2 separate regions of the Homo sapiens genome follow, and region 2 is linked to region 1. The links are contacts of gene promoters, found by promoter capture Hi-C in blood cells and fetal thymus (Javierre and others, 2016). All regions are on one chromosome and are shown on one strand. The core of a region is centred on a gene start or on the middle of the fragment in contact, and the rest is flanking DNA. Distances in the headings are between cores, read along the strand shown.

Region 1 (6,377 bases), core at 872-3,371:
GGCTATAGTTCGCCATAGATGGATGGAGGATAAGGATACAGCCTCAGTCAAGTCTCATGATCTAGATATAAGAACAAGGAAAAGATAGATCCATACATTTTACTGAAAATATAATCCACAAAGAGAACTGATCTGATCTGCAGTCATGCTTCCTCTTTTCTTCCACTTGTTTTGCCATCAGAATATCTGAAAAAAAAAAAAAAAAAAACCTATCAGTTCTTAAGTTAACAAGCAATGATGTCAGACAGTGCTAACAAAGCTGTTCACTTATGGGGAAGCAAATAAAGTTTTAATTTTGAATACTAATATTTGCTTTACTAAATATTTTTGCTCGAGATTTCAGAGAATTGGCTTGTTTAGTTTTTCAAGCTAAGTGAATTTTAAAATGTCCCTATTTTGGACAATATACATTTGATAGGGTAACTTTAGGAGAGAAGGAATAAAATGTCCCATTCTTGTAAAATATGCCAGTCCAGGAATTAACCACTAGAATTGCAATGGAATCTACAAGATTGCTATTAGGAGGCAGAGACACTACCTACATTTATTTGAGATCTATTAGTATCTGTCAGTGTTTCACAGGCAGCTTCTCTGTTTGATGTGGGTCCAAAGAACCCGTGCAAAATATATCTTAAGTGCCACTATTCATGCTGCATAAGAGTATTTGTTGATTCATCTTAAAGCAAAATTTCAAAATTAACTTCAAAATTAATAGGAACTTACTTGTCCCAAGATTTGATGTGATTTAATCATTTGTCTTTCCCTCTCCACCCTACCCCCCATTTCTGGCAAATCTTTTAAGCCCACATGATTATTAAAATGGTTAATGTAAATATTGGACAGGGAAACACACCCAGAGGAATAATGCACTTCCATTTGTAAACCTTGGCTGCCTGGATTCAAATGAATATAACATGAACCTGTATTTCTTGGGCAATTAAGCCTTTCCCATTTACACTGATAACCTTTGTTGCAAATCACAAGTGGCTGCTTTTTAAAACAAAATGCACATTGTCTCGCAGGTGCCTGGACCACACCAGGGAAATCGGCTTCCTCTGTTATTCCCACCAAGCGTGTTTCTTTTGCCACTTCTCACTGGCCCGGAATATGCTGGTGGAAGCCCAGGCAAAACTGCGTTCGATGATTTTAATTTCCCCACCGGTACATCCTCGGGTAAATACCGATCGCATCATGCAACATTACGAAACCTGAAATCCGCCACCCCTGGATTTATAATGGGGGGAGGGTGGAGGAGGGGGAGAGGGAGAGAGACATGCATTACATACGCGAAGATGGGGAGAGAGATTGCTTCTGTGCTGCAAAGGAACCGTTCCCGGTGATTCGCAGTCTGATATTCCTCAGTCTTGTAAGGCTTTCCAGAAATGGAGCTCTCAGTAAGCCCTACTGAAGATGCATTGTCTGAATGTACTTCCATTATGCAGTTTATTGTCACAAAACACATACACACACACACACACACACACACACAGAGACACACACACACACACACACACACACAACCTGAGGGAGGGCTCTTTCTCGGTGAACCTGCAGTTTCATCAACACTGTGCATTCCCCCACATCCCCCAAACTTAACCAAGAGTATATCCTCCTACCTGTTGGTGTTGGATATCCCGACAGACTATAGCTTCTTTCTATAAATTGCTGATTTTTTTCTTTTTTTCTTTTTCTTTTTTTTTTTTTTTTTTTTGTTTTTTGTTTTTTTTTTTTTTTTTTTTGCCTTAGTGCCTTGACTGAGCATCCAGGCAGGGCTCGGCGGCGCCTGCGCGCTGGAGCCTCCTTGAGCTCCAGCCGCGTCCTCCCCTGTCGCAGCGGCACCGTCTCCCCCAGTAACGCAGGGGCCGCGGCGGCGGCGGCTGCGGTGGCGAGGGCGGCGGCGGGGCTGCTTCAGCCTCTGTGGAACCAGCAGGAACCCCTACCTGACTCCAGAGCTGGCTGGGTTTATTGACTGCCCTGTCCAATCCAACTGGCAGCATTAAGCTTTTGTCCCTTCGTGGCTGCTTCTGAACTTTTCCCTCCCCGCATTTGTAGTGGGGGGCTGGAAAGGCCCTTTCAGGACCTCAGGCCCATCCTCTTCCCAAAGGCAGCGCACGAGGAAGTCACAGTGCCCGTGACGCCCGCCCCCTCCCTCAGCTTCCCGGAACCCTAACCTTCCCCAGACACTTTCTTCCCTTTTCTTTTAGGGTGGTCCAAACCACCGGAGGCTTCTTTTATATATTTATTTTTAAGTGATGTCTCCAGCTAACCTTTAAATTTGCAGGTTAGCTGGAAAAAGACAAGAAAAGAATGGGAAAAAAGAAAAAAAGTTATTTATTTATTTATTTATCTTTTTCCCACAGTTAAAAATCTTTTCAATGGGGAAGAAGGGAAGGCACGTTAGGGCAGCTCTCTCTTTGTTAGTCATCTTCTATTCTCCAATGCACGCAAATATGCGTAAAAGTAGGGAGAAAGCTAAGTTCAGAGGACAACTACAATATGATTTACATTCAGTCTACCTTAAAGGATGTCACTAAAGAATCAGGCTTATAAAATGTTTAAATGGCTATTCCTGGCATTCCACCCCACCAAGCAACAGTATTCCTTTTCCCTTCTTACAAGTTCCGCTGACCAATGATGGGTGATGTCAAAGCAGTTATGTGTACGAGTTTCCTTTTTTCCCCTTTGTTATTACAGATGAAAAATACTAGAAATATAACAAATACGTAAAACTTACACCAGTCCAAACGGTCGGATGATACCACAGACACCACAAAGCCTGACACGTGGGTGCTTAGGAATGCCTCTAGAATCATGCATTTTCTTATTTTACCATTTCCGAAGAGTTTTGTTTGTGGAGGTGATATAAAATTTTAAGCAACAACTTCCCAGTTCTCCTACCCAAAACTAGCAGACACGCTTTCATTAATTCCCAATGTAAAACGTCTGCTTCTTTTTCTGCATGCTTTTTGCTTTATAATAATCTGTTAATGAAACAAAAAATAAAAATCTTCTCTACAGTAATAATCTGATCTTGAGACAGCAGTAAAATACCTCATTGCTGGGTGGTGAGATTGTGACATTCAGGGGAACTCAGGCCAATCAGCATACAGATAATATGGGTTAATTTACATACTGTATTTCTATTGGATGAGCCGAGGTAAAGCCTTATCTTGATGTCACAGTCGTTACACAAAGCCCTATGTTGGTAATACTGAAATGATGTTAAATTTCCCTGATTTGTTCTTGAATTTCCTACGTCCATTTAAATACATGGATAATAGTTTGTTTTTTTCGAAAAGAATATACACAAGGCACTAAACTTTGGCATTCCCTTAACCTAGAAAAATCAATCCTACAGCCATGCTGGAAGTAACTTGAGGGCATTTCCATTCAAATAAAACATTCCACTTTTTGCAAAGCAAATGAATTCAAAACTCAAAACCATGTGGTGGTTTGCAACTTCTAAGTAAAATGTCAAATTCGTTTTTATGAAACTACAAATCACTTCAACTTGTGCTTTTTTGCTTCCCAATAAATGCTTCAATGTACTTTGCAAAGAGTTATTTCCTGAATTTTTACAGTTTTAAAAAATGTATGGAATAAGAGGCTTAAGTTTGCTGAAGATTCATGATTGGTCAGATGTTAGGTTGTACAGATTAGGGAAAAGCTATTTTAAAGTAAATTAAAAGAGTCACTGCACTGCCAGGCCATGAAGCAGTAATATACTCTGCCAAAAGTTATAGGGCCAAGATCCAAGGGTTTTAACTAGTCTTATTCTTTAAGCAGATATTGATTCCTTAAAAATAAGGGAGAGGGTATATGTGTATGCAATATTCTTTCATATCCACATCTCAGGGTATAGTAAAGCTATTTTTTTCCTTTGCAGTTGAGCACAGTTACATCCACTAATTCTTCAGCTTTTCCAGCTGTTGGATAAGAATGTCATTTTCTTGCCTCACAAGGGGACTCAAGAAATTAATGAGATATTTTCTATCTAGCTCATTAACTCTACTGGAGAAAACATTGGAAGCTACATCTTTCATCAGCAGGGCTTTAAAAAATATGTTTAATAGCTGACAAAAGTTTCATATCATCTACAAGTTCTCAAATGTAAAGTTATTGCTTCAAATTGTTTAGATCATAGGCTTAGTTGGTCTTAACTAATTTCTTTTTTTTTTATCCCCTACATCACCAAACCCAGAAAATTTGATTTTCAGGTTAAGAGTAAAAGAACAAAGCAAATACAACAAAACTATATGCTCTAATCCTTGGGTTTGAAGGGTTCTGAAGATTTACAAACTGTTGGAATATTACATGTACTATATTGATCAGTGTATTAGGAAAACTGATATAATTTGCTTAATTTGGTTCTTATAAAAAGTACATACCATTTTATTTTAAAAACCAATGACCTTGCTTTCAAAATTAATCTATTTCAGATTTTTGCCAACTGATGCATAGTATCATGATCAGCAAAAACAGTGTTTTTTTCTGTGCATTGTTTACATGAAAGTGTGTGTCAGGAAATAACACTTGGTAATTGCAGAGAATAATAGACTAGAATAAACATTCTAAATAAAAGATTTTTAGTAATTCATTTCAAATGACATGTCTTCTGCTTAAAGCATAAAACGTGTGTCTTTGGTGCTCTCAACTGTTACCAAAATTTAAAGTTGTATATGAAAAAGAGCCTTTTTAAAGTTTTCTTTAAAACTTTAACTATCTTTTTGATGGGGTTGTTTGTTTTTTTCTTGTAAATTTGTTTGAGCTCATTGTAGATTCTGGATATTAGCCCTTTGTCAGATGAGTAGGTTGCGAAAATTTTCTCCCATTTTGTAGGTTGCCTGTTCACTCTGATGGTAGTGTCTTTTGCTGTGCAGAAGCTCTTTAGTTTAACTAGATCCCATTTGTCAATTTTGGCTTTTGTTGCCATTGCTTTTGGTGTTTTAGACATGAAGTCCTTGCCCATGCCTATGTCCTGAATGGTATTGCCTAGGTTTTCTTCTAGGGTTTTTATGGTTTTCGGTCTAACGTTTAAGTCTTTAATCCATCTTGAATTAATTTTTGTATAAGGTGTAAGGAAGGGATCCAGTTTCAGCTTTCTACATATGGCTGGTCAGTTTTCCCAGCACCATTTATTAAATAGAGAATCCTTTTCCCATTGCTTGTTTTTCTTAGGTTTGTCAAAGATCAGATAGTTGTAGATATGCGGCGTTATTTCTGAGGCGTCTGTTCTGTTCCATTGATCTATATCTCTGTTTTGGTACCAGTACCATGCTGTTTTGGTTACTGTAGCCTTGTAGTATAGTTTGAAGTCAGGTAGCTTGATGCCTCCAACTTTGTTCTTTCGGCTTAGGATTGACTTGGCGATGCGGGCTCTTTTTTGGTTCCATATGAACTTTAAAGTAGTTTTTTCCAATTCTGTGAAGAAAGTCATTGGTAGCTTGATGGGGATGGCATTGAATCTATAAATTACCTTGGGCAGTATGGTCATTTTCATGATATTGATTCTTCCTACCCATGAGCATGGAATGCTCTTCCATTTCTTTGTATCCTCTTTTATTTCATTGAACAGTGGTTTGTACTTCTCCTTGAAGAGGTCCTTCACATCCCTTGTAAGTTGGATTCCTAGGTATTTTATTCTCTTTGAAGCAATTGTGAATGGGAGTTCACTCATGATTTGGCTCTCTGTTTGTCTGTTATTTATGTATAAGAATGCTTGTGATTTTTGTACATTGATTTTGTATCCTGAGACTTTGCTGAAGTTGCTTATCAGCTTAAGGAGATTTTGGGCTGTGACAGTGGGGTTTTTTAGATATACAATCATGTCATCTGCAGACAGGGACAATTTGACTTCCTCTTTTCCTAATTGAATACCCTTTATTTCCTTCTCCTGCCTAATTGCCCTGGCCAGAACTTCCAACACTATGTTGAATAGGAGTGGTGAGAGAGGGCATCCCTGTCTTGTGCCAGTTTTCAAAGGGAATGCTTCCAGTTTTTGCATGAACAGACGCTTCTCAAAAGAAGACATTTATGTAGCCAAAAAACACATGAAAAAATGCTCACCATCATTGGCCATCAGAGAAATGCAAATCAAAACCACAATGAGATACCATCTCACACCAGTTCGAATGGCAATCATTAAAAAGTCAGGAAACAACAGGTGCTGGAGAGGATGTGGAGAAACAGGAACACTTTTACACTGTTGGTGGGACTGTAAACTAGTTCAACCATTGTGCAAGTCAGTGTGGTGATTCCTCAGGGATCTAGAACTAGAAATACCATTTGACCCAGCCATCCCATTACTGGGTATATACCCAAAGGACTATAAATCATGCTGCTATAAAGACACATGCACATGTATGTTTATTGCGGCA
Region 2 (6,380 bases), core at 3,741-6,240, 490 kb before region 1:
GTTCCTCCTCACTGGGTGAAACCTTTCAACTGCGGTCTCCAGCTGCCTCCTATAGACACGTTTGGGCCAGCAATAGGTCAGAACCACCCGGGACAAAGCTTCTAGAAGAAGGGGCAGGCTGCCATCTTTGCTGTTTCACTGTCTTCCCTGCTGATACCTCCAGGTATGGGAAAAACCTAGGCAACTAGGGTCTGGAGCGGACCCCAGAAATCCACAGCAGTCCTATGAAAGAGTGGCCAGACTATTAAAAGAAAAACAAACAAACAGAAAACAGCATCATAAACTATATAAAACCCACAAAAAAACCAATCTGAAGGTCAGCAACATCAAAGATCAAAGATAGATAAGCCCACAAAGATGAGAAAGAATCAATACAAAAATGCTGAAAACTCAAAAAGCCAGAGTGCCCTTTTACCTCCAAATGACCACAACACCTCTCCAGCAAGGGCTCAGAACTGTGCCAAGGCTGAGATGGCTGAAATGACAGAAGTAAGCTTCAGAATGTGGATAATAACAAACATCACTGAGTTAACGAAGCATGTTGTAACCCAACACAAAGAAGCTAAGAATTGCAATAATACAGGAGCTGACAGGCAAAATAGCCAGCTTAGAAAGGAATGTAACTGACCCATTGGAGCTGAGAAACACACAAGAACATCACAGTGCAATCACAAGTATTCACAGCAGAATAGACCAAGCAGAGGAAAACCTCTCAGAGCTTGAAGACTGATTTTCAGAATTAAGACAGGCAGACAAAAATAGAGAAAAGAGAATGAAAAGGAATGAATAAAACCTCCGAGAAATAGGGGATTATGTAAAGAGACCAAATCTAAGACTGATTGGGGTACCTGAAAGAGACGGGGAGAATGGAACCAAGTTGGAAAACATACTTTAGGATATCATCCAGCAGAACTTTCCCAACCTAGTAAGACAGGCCAACATTCAAATTCAGGAAATGCCTAGAACCCTAGTAAGATACTCCGTGAGAAGATCATCCCCAAGACACATAATCATCACATTCTCCAAAGTCAAAATAAAAGAAAAAATCTTAAGGGCAGTCAGACAGAAAGGCCAGGTCACTTACAAAGGGAAGCCTATCAGATTAACAGTGTACCTCTCAGTGGAAACCCTACAAGCCAGAAGAGATTGGGGACCAATATTCAACATTCTTGAAGAAAGAATTTCTAACCCAGAATTTCATATCCAGCCAAACTAAGCTTCAAAAGTGGAGGAGAAATAAAATCATTTTCAGACAAGCAAATGCTGAGAGAATTCATCATCTCTAGGCCTACCTTGCAAGAGCTCCTGAAGGAAGCACTAAATATGGAAAGGAAAAACCTGTACCAGCCACTATAAAAACACACTGAAGTACACAGACCAGTGACACTCTGAAGCAACAACATAAACAAGTCTGCAAAATAACCAGCTAGCATTATGATGACAAGATTAAATTCACACAAAACAATATTAACCTTAAATGTAAATGGACTAAATGTCCCAATTAAAAGACACAGAGTGCCAAGCTGGATAGAGCCAAGATCCATAGGTGTGAGGTATTCAAGAGACCCATCTCACGTGCAAAGACACACATTGGCTCAAAATAAAGGGATGGAGGAAAATTTGCCAAGCAAATGGAAAACAGAAAAAAGCAGGAGTTACAATCCTAGTTTCTGACAAAACAGACTTGCAACCACAAAAAAGACAAAGAAGGGCATTACATAATGGTAAAGGGTTTAATTAAACAGGAATAACTAGGTATCCTAAATATATATGCACCCAATATGGGAGCACCCCGATTCATAAAGCAAGTTCTTAGAGACCTTCAAGAGACAGACTTCCACACAATAACAGTGGGAGACTTTAACACCCCCCACTGATAATATACAGATCATAGAGACAGAAAATTAACAAAGATATTCAGGACCTGAACTCAGCTCAGGATCAAGTGGACCTGATAGATATCTACAGAATGCTCCATCCCTAATCAACAGAATATACATTTTTCTCATCACCACATGGCACTTACTCTAAAGTTGATCACATAATTGGAAGTAAAACACTCCTCAGTAAATGCAAAAGAACTGAAATAATAACAAACAGTCTCTCAGACCACAGTGTAATCAAATTAGAACTCAAGATTAAGAAATTGACTCCAGGCCGGGCTCGGTGGCTCACACCTGTAATTCCTGCACTTTGGGAGGCCGAGGCAGGCAGATCACAAGTTCAAGAGATCGAGACCAGCCAGGCGCGGTGGCTCACGCCTGTAATCCCAGCACTTTGGGAGGCCAAGGAGGACAGATAACGAGGTCAGGAGATCAAGACCATCCTGGCTAACACGGTGAAACCCCATCTCTACTAAAAATACAAAAAAATTAGCCAGATGTGGTGACAGGCGCCTGTAGTCCCAGCTACTTGGGAGGCTGAGGCAGGAGAATGGCGTGAACCTGGGAGGTGGAGCTTGCAGTGAGTTGAGATCACGCCACTGCACTCCAGCCTGGGCGACAGAGTGAGACTCCACCTCAAAAAAAAAAAAAAAAAAAGAGATCGAGACCATCCTGGCCAACATGGTGAAACCCCGTCTCTACTAAAAATACAAAAATTAGCTGGGTGTGGTAATGCATGCCTGTAGTCCCAGCTACTCGGGAGGCTGAGGCTGGGGAATCGCTTGAGGCAGAGATTGCAGTGAGCCGAGATCATGCCACTGCACTCCAGCCTGGTGACAGAGCGAGACTCTGTCTCAAAAAAAAAAAAAAAAAAAAAAAAAAAAAAAATTTACTCCAAACCACACAACTACATGGAAATTCAAAAATCTGCTCCTGAATGACTTTTGGGTAAATAATGAAATTAAGGCAGAAATCAAGTTCTTTGAAACTAATGAGAACAAATATACCATATACCAGAATCTCTGGGAAGCAGCTAAAGCAGAGTTAAGAGCGAAATTTATAGAACTAAATGCCTACATCAAAAAGCTAGAGAGAGCTCAAGTTAACAACCTAACATCTCAACTAAAAGAACTAGAGAACCAAGAGCAAACAAACCTCGAAGCTAGCAGAAGACAAGAAATAACCAATAGCAGAACTGAACTGAAGCAGATAGAGCAACAAAAAACAAACAAACAAACAAAAACTTTCAAAAAATAAGTGAATCCACAAGCTGGTTTTTTGAAAAAATTAACAAAATGGATAAACTGCTAGACTAATAAAGAAGAAAAGAGAGAAGACTCAAATAAACACAATTAGAAATGATAAGAAGGGTATCACCACTGACCCCACAGAAATACAACCACCAGAGAATACTATAAACACCTCCATGCAAATGAAGTAGAAAATCTAGAAGAAATGGATAAATTCCTGGACACATACACCCTCCCGAGGCTGAACCAGGAAGAAATTGAATCCCTGAATAGACCAATAATGAGTTCTGAAATTGAGGCAGTAATAAATATCCTACCAACCAAAAAATGCCCAGGTCCAGATGGATGCACAGCTGAATTCTGCCAGAGGTTCAAAGAAGAGCTGGTACCATTCCTACTGAAACTATTCCAAACAATTGACGAGGGACTCCTCTCTAACTCATTCTAAGGGACCAGCATCATCCTGATACCAAAACCTGGCAGAGATACAATAAAAAAGAAAACTTCAGGCCAATATCCTTGATGAATATCAATGCAAAAACCCTCAACAAAATACTGGCAAGCTGAATCCAGCAGCATATCAAAACCCTATCCACCACAATCAAGTAGGCTTCATCCCAGGATGTAAGGTTGGTTCAACATGTGCAAATCAATAAATATGACTTATCACATAAACAGAACTAAAGACAAAAACCACATGATTATCTCAATAGAGGCAAAAAAGGCCTTTGATAAAATTCAACATCCCTTCATGTTAAAATCTCTCAATAAACTAGGTATTGAAAGAACATACCTCAAAATAATAAGAACCATATATGACAAACTACAGCCAATATCACCATACTGAATGGCCAAAAGCTAGAAGCATTTCCCTTCTAGAAGCACAAGACAAGGATGCCCTTTCTCACCACTCTTATTCAACATAGTGTTGAAAGTTCTGGCCAGGGCAATCGGCAAGAAAAAGAAATAAAGTGTATTCAAATAGGAAAAGAGGAAGTCAAACTATCTTTGTTTGCAGATGACAGGATTCTATATCTAGAAAATCCCGTTATCTCAATGGTTGAGCTTCTTAAACTCAGCCTAAAAGCTTCTTAAGCTGATAAGTGACTTCAGCAAAATCACAGGATACAAAATCAATGTGCAAAAATTCTCATGCTATTTTCATTCTATTCCTATTCTCATGCTATTCCTAGATTATTGAGTGTGGTGGTTAATATTTAGGGTCAACTTGTTTAGATTGAAGGATGCAAAGTATTGTTTCTGGGTGTGTCTGTGAGGGTGTTGCCAAAGGAGATTAACATTTGAGTCAGTGGACTGGGAGAGGCAGAGTCACCCTCAATCTGGGTGGGTACCATCTAATCAGCTGCCAGTGCGGCTAGGATAAAAGCAGACAGAGGATTGTGGAAGGACTAGACTGGGTGAGTCTTCTGGCATTCATCTTTCTCCTGTGCTGGATGCTTCCTGCCCTCAGACATCAGACTCCAAGTTCTTCAGCTTTTGGACTCTTGGACTTACACCAGTGGTTTGTCAGGGGCTCTCGGGCCTCCAGCCACAGATTGAAGACTGCACTGTTGGCTTCTCAACTTTTGAGGTTTTGGGGACTTGGCATGGCTTCCTGGCTCCTCACCTTGCAGACAGCCTATTGTGAGACTTCACTTTGTGATCGTGTAAGTCAATACCCCCTAATAAGCTCCCTTTCCTATATACATCTATCCTATTAGTCCTGTCCCTCCAGAGAACCTGGACTAATATACTGAGTTTATTTCAGGAGTAGTTTTGGAATTTTATCAACTCCCTTTTCAGCACCTATTATTGCATGAATCAAATAGATTTTCTGGTTTTGTTTATTTATATAAGAAATTAAATGAATACATTTCTTATTATTTAATCATTTAACCACCCTTTCATTCTTGTAAAAAGTTCTACTTGGTTATGATATATTATTGTAATATGTTGCTACTTTTGATTTGTAATCTTTTAAGAAGACTTTTCCTTTTATAATCTTATGTGAGATTTAGAAAAAGGTTATTTTGGATAGTCTTTGTTCAATTTGGTGTTGTGCTAGCTTTATAGAAAAAATAAGGAAATTTTATATCAATTCAATACCCTGAAACGAATTAGGTCAAACTTGAAAAAATATCTTTCCTTTAAAGGTTGTAGAACTCACTCACACAATGGTCTGGGACTGATGCCCTTTTTTGTACAGTAGGTTTTTAAAAACCATGTTTTCAAGTCTTTTCTGTGGCTATTTGGCTATTCAGTTGTACATTTTCTCTGATATTCCTTTAATAATCTATGCATCCCTAACAATTATTTCCTCTAAAATTTTAGATTTATTGATATAAGTATTAGATAGATTCTTTTGTGGTTTCATAAGTATTATTTGCATCCTTGGCTATGTTTGCATTCTTATTTCTGTTCTTCTCTCTCTCTCTGTTTCTTTCTCTGTCTGGAGAGAATTGCCAGAGGCTTCTGAGTTTTATTGGGCTTTTTAAAGAACTAACTTTATCTTAATTAATCCAGTCTGCCTTTGAGGGGTTATTTTGTATTTAATCTATTTCTGTTTTTATCTTTTAAAATTCATTTATAATTTTTTGTTTTGTTCTTTTTATTATCATCATGAGTTGAAAGCTTAACGCATTCATTTTCTGTCTGTCTTGTTTTCTAAAAAATGCACTTAAGGCTGTGCGTTTCTACTGAGTATTGCTTTGGTCCCATGCCATAGACAGGAAATGCAGTCTTCTCATTGATGCTCATTTTTATTAGTAATTTTAGATGTAACTTCTCCTTTAATGCAAGGATTACTTAGAAAAATGATTTTAAATGTCTCAAATGCCTTTACTGTCTCTTCACATCTGTTTTTCATTAGACGAATTCGACTGTGTTCTTTAAATACCACAATAGGTCCTAAGTACCATTCAGCATCTCATTGTTCCCTTAGCTGAGCAGCTCCCAGATGGTATTCATCTGCCTGCTGAACCATTCCTTTATTATAGACAGACACTATTAGAAACCTCTCTGATATCCTTGGTCTCAACTATCAGGGCTTGTTGAATTGAAGCAGCTGAATTCAATACAGTTTAAAGTTGTTTCTTTCAAGAGTTAACTCATTTTTCTGGGCTTCAGACATTGAACAAGTAATGGCCTGGCCTTATCCAAAACTTGTGTGTATATATATATATATATATATACACACACACACACACACACACACACACATATGTGTATGTGTATGTGTGTGTGTGTG

Evidence for each region. The method cuts DNA at HindIII sites, captures the fragments that hold promoters and counts their contacts. A CHiCAGO score of 5 or more calls a contact.
Region 2: a contact is called between a fragment that was not itself captured here and the fragment with the promoter of GPR85 in region 1, in 1 of 17 cell types (neutrophils). The highest score is 5.9, in neutrophils.

Annotation. Positions count from the first base shown.
Region 1 is chr7:113,084,706-113,091,082 of GRCh38, forward strand. GPR85 (G protein-coupled receptor 85) reads right to left here and starts at 2,122. Exons shown (of 3, transcript NM_001146267.2): 1 at 1,617-2,122; 2 at 1,287-1,404; 3 at 1-186. The coding sequence starts at 16. RefSeq lists a silencer at 1,808-1,867. The HindIII fragment of the contact is 6,967 bases long and covers 2,000-6,377 here.
Region 2 is chr7:112,588,577-112,594,956 of GRCh38, forward strand. No RefSeq gene overlaps it. Among named protein-coding and RNA genes, the nearest start is that of LINC03076, 26 kb to the right of the region's middle. The HindIII fragment of the contact is 1,544 bases long and covers 4,219-5,762 here.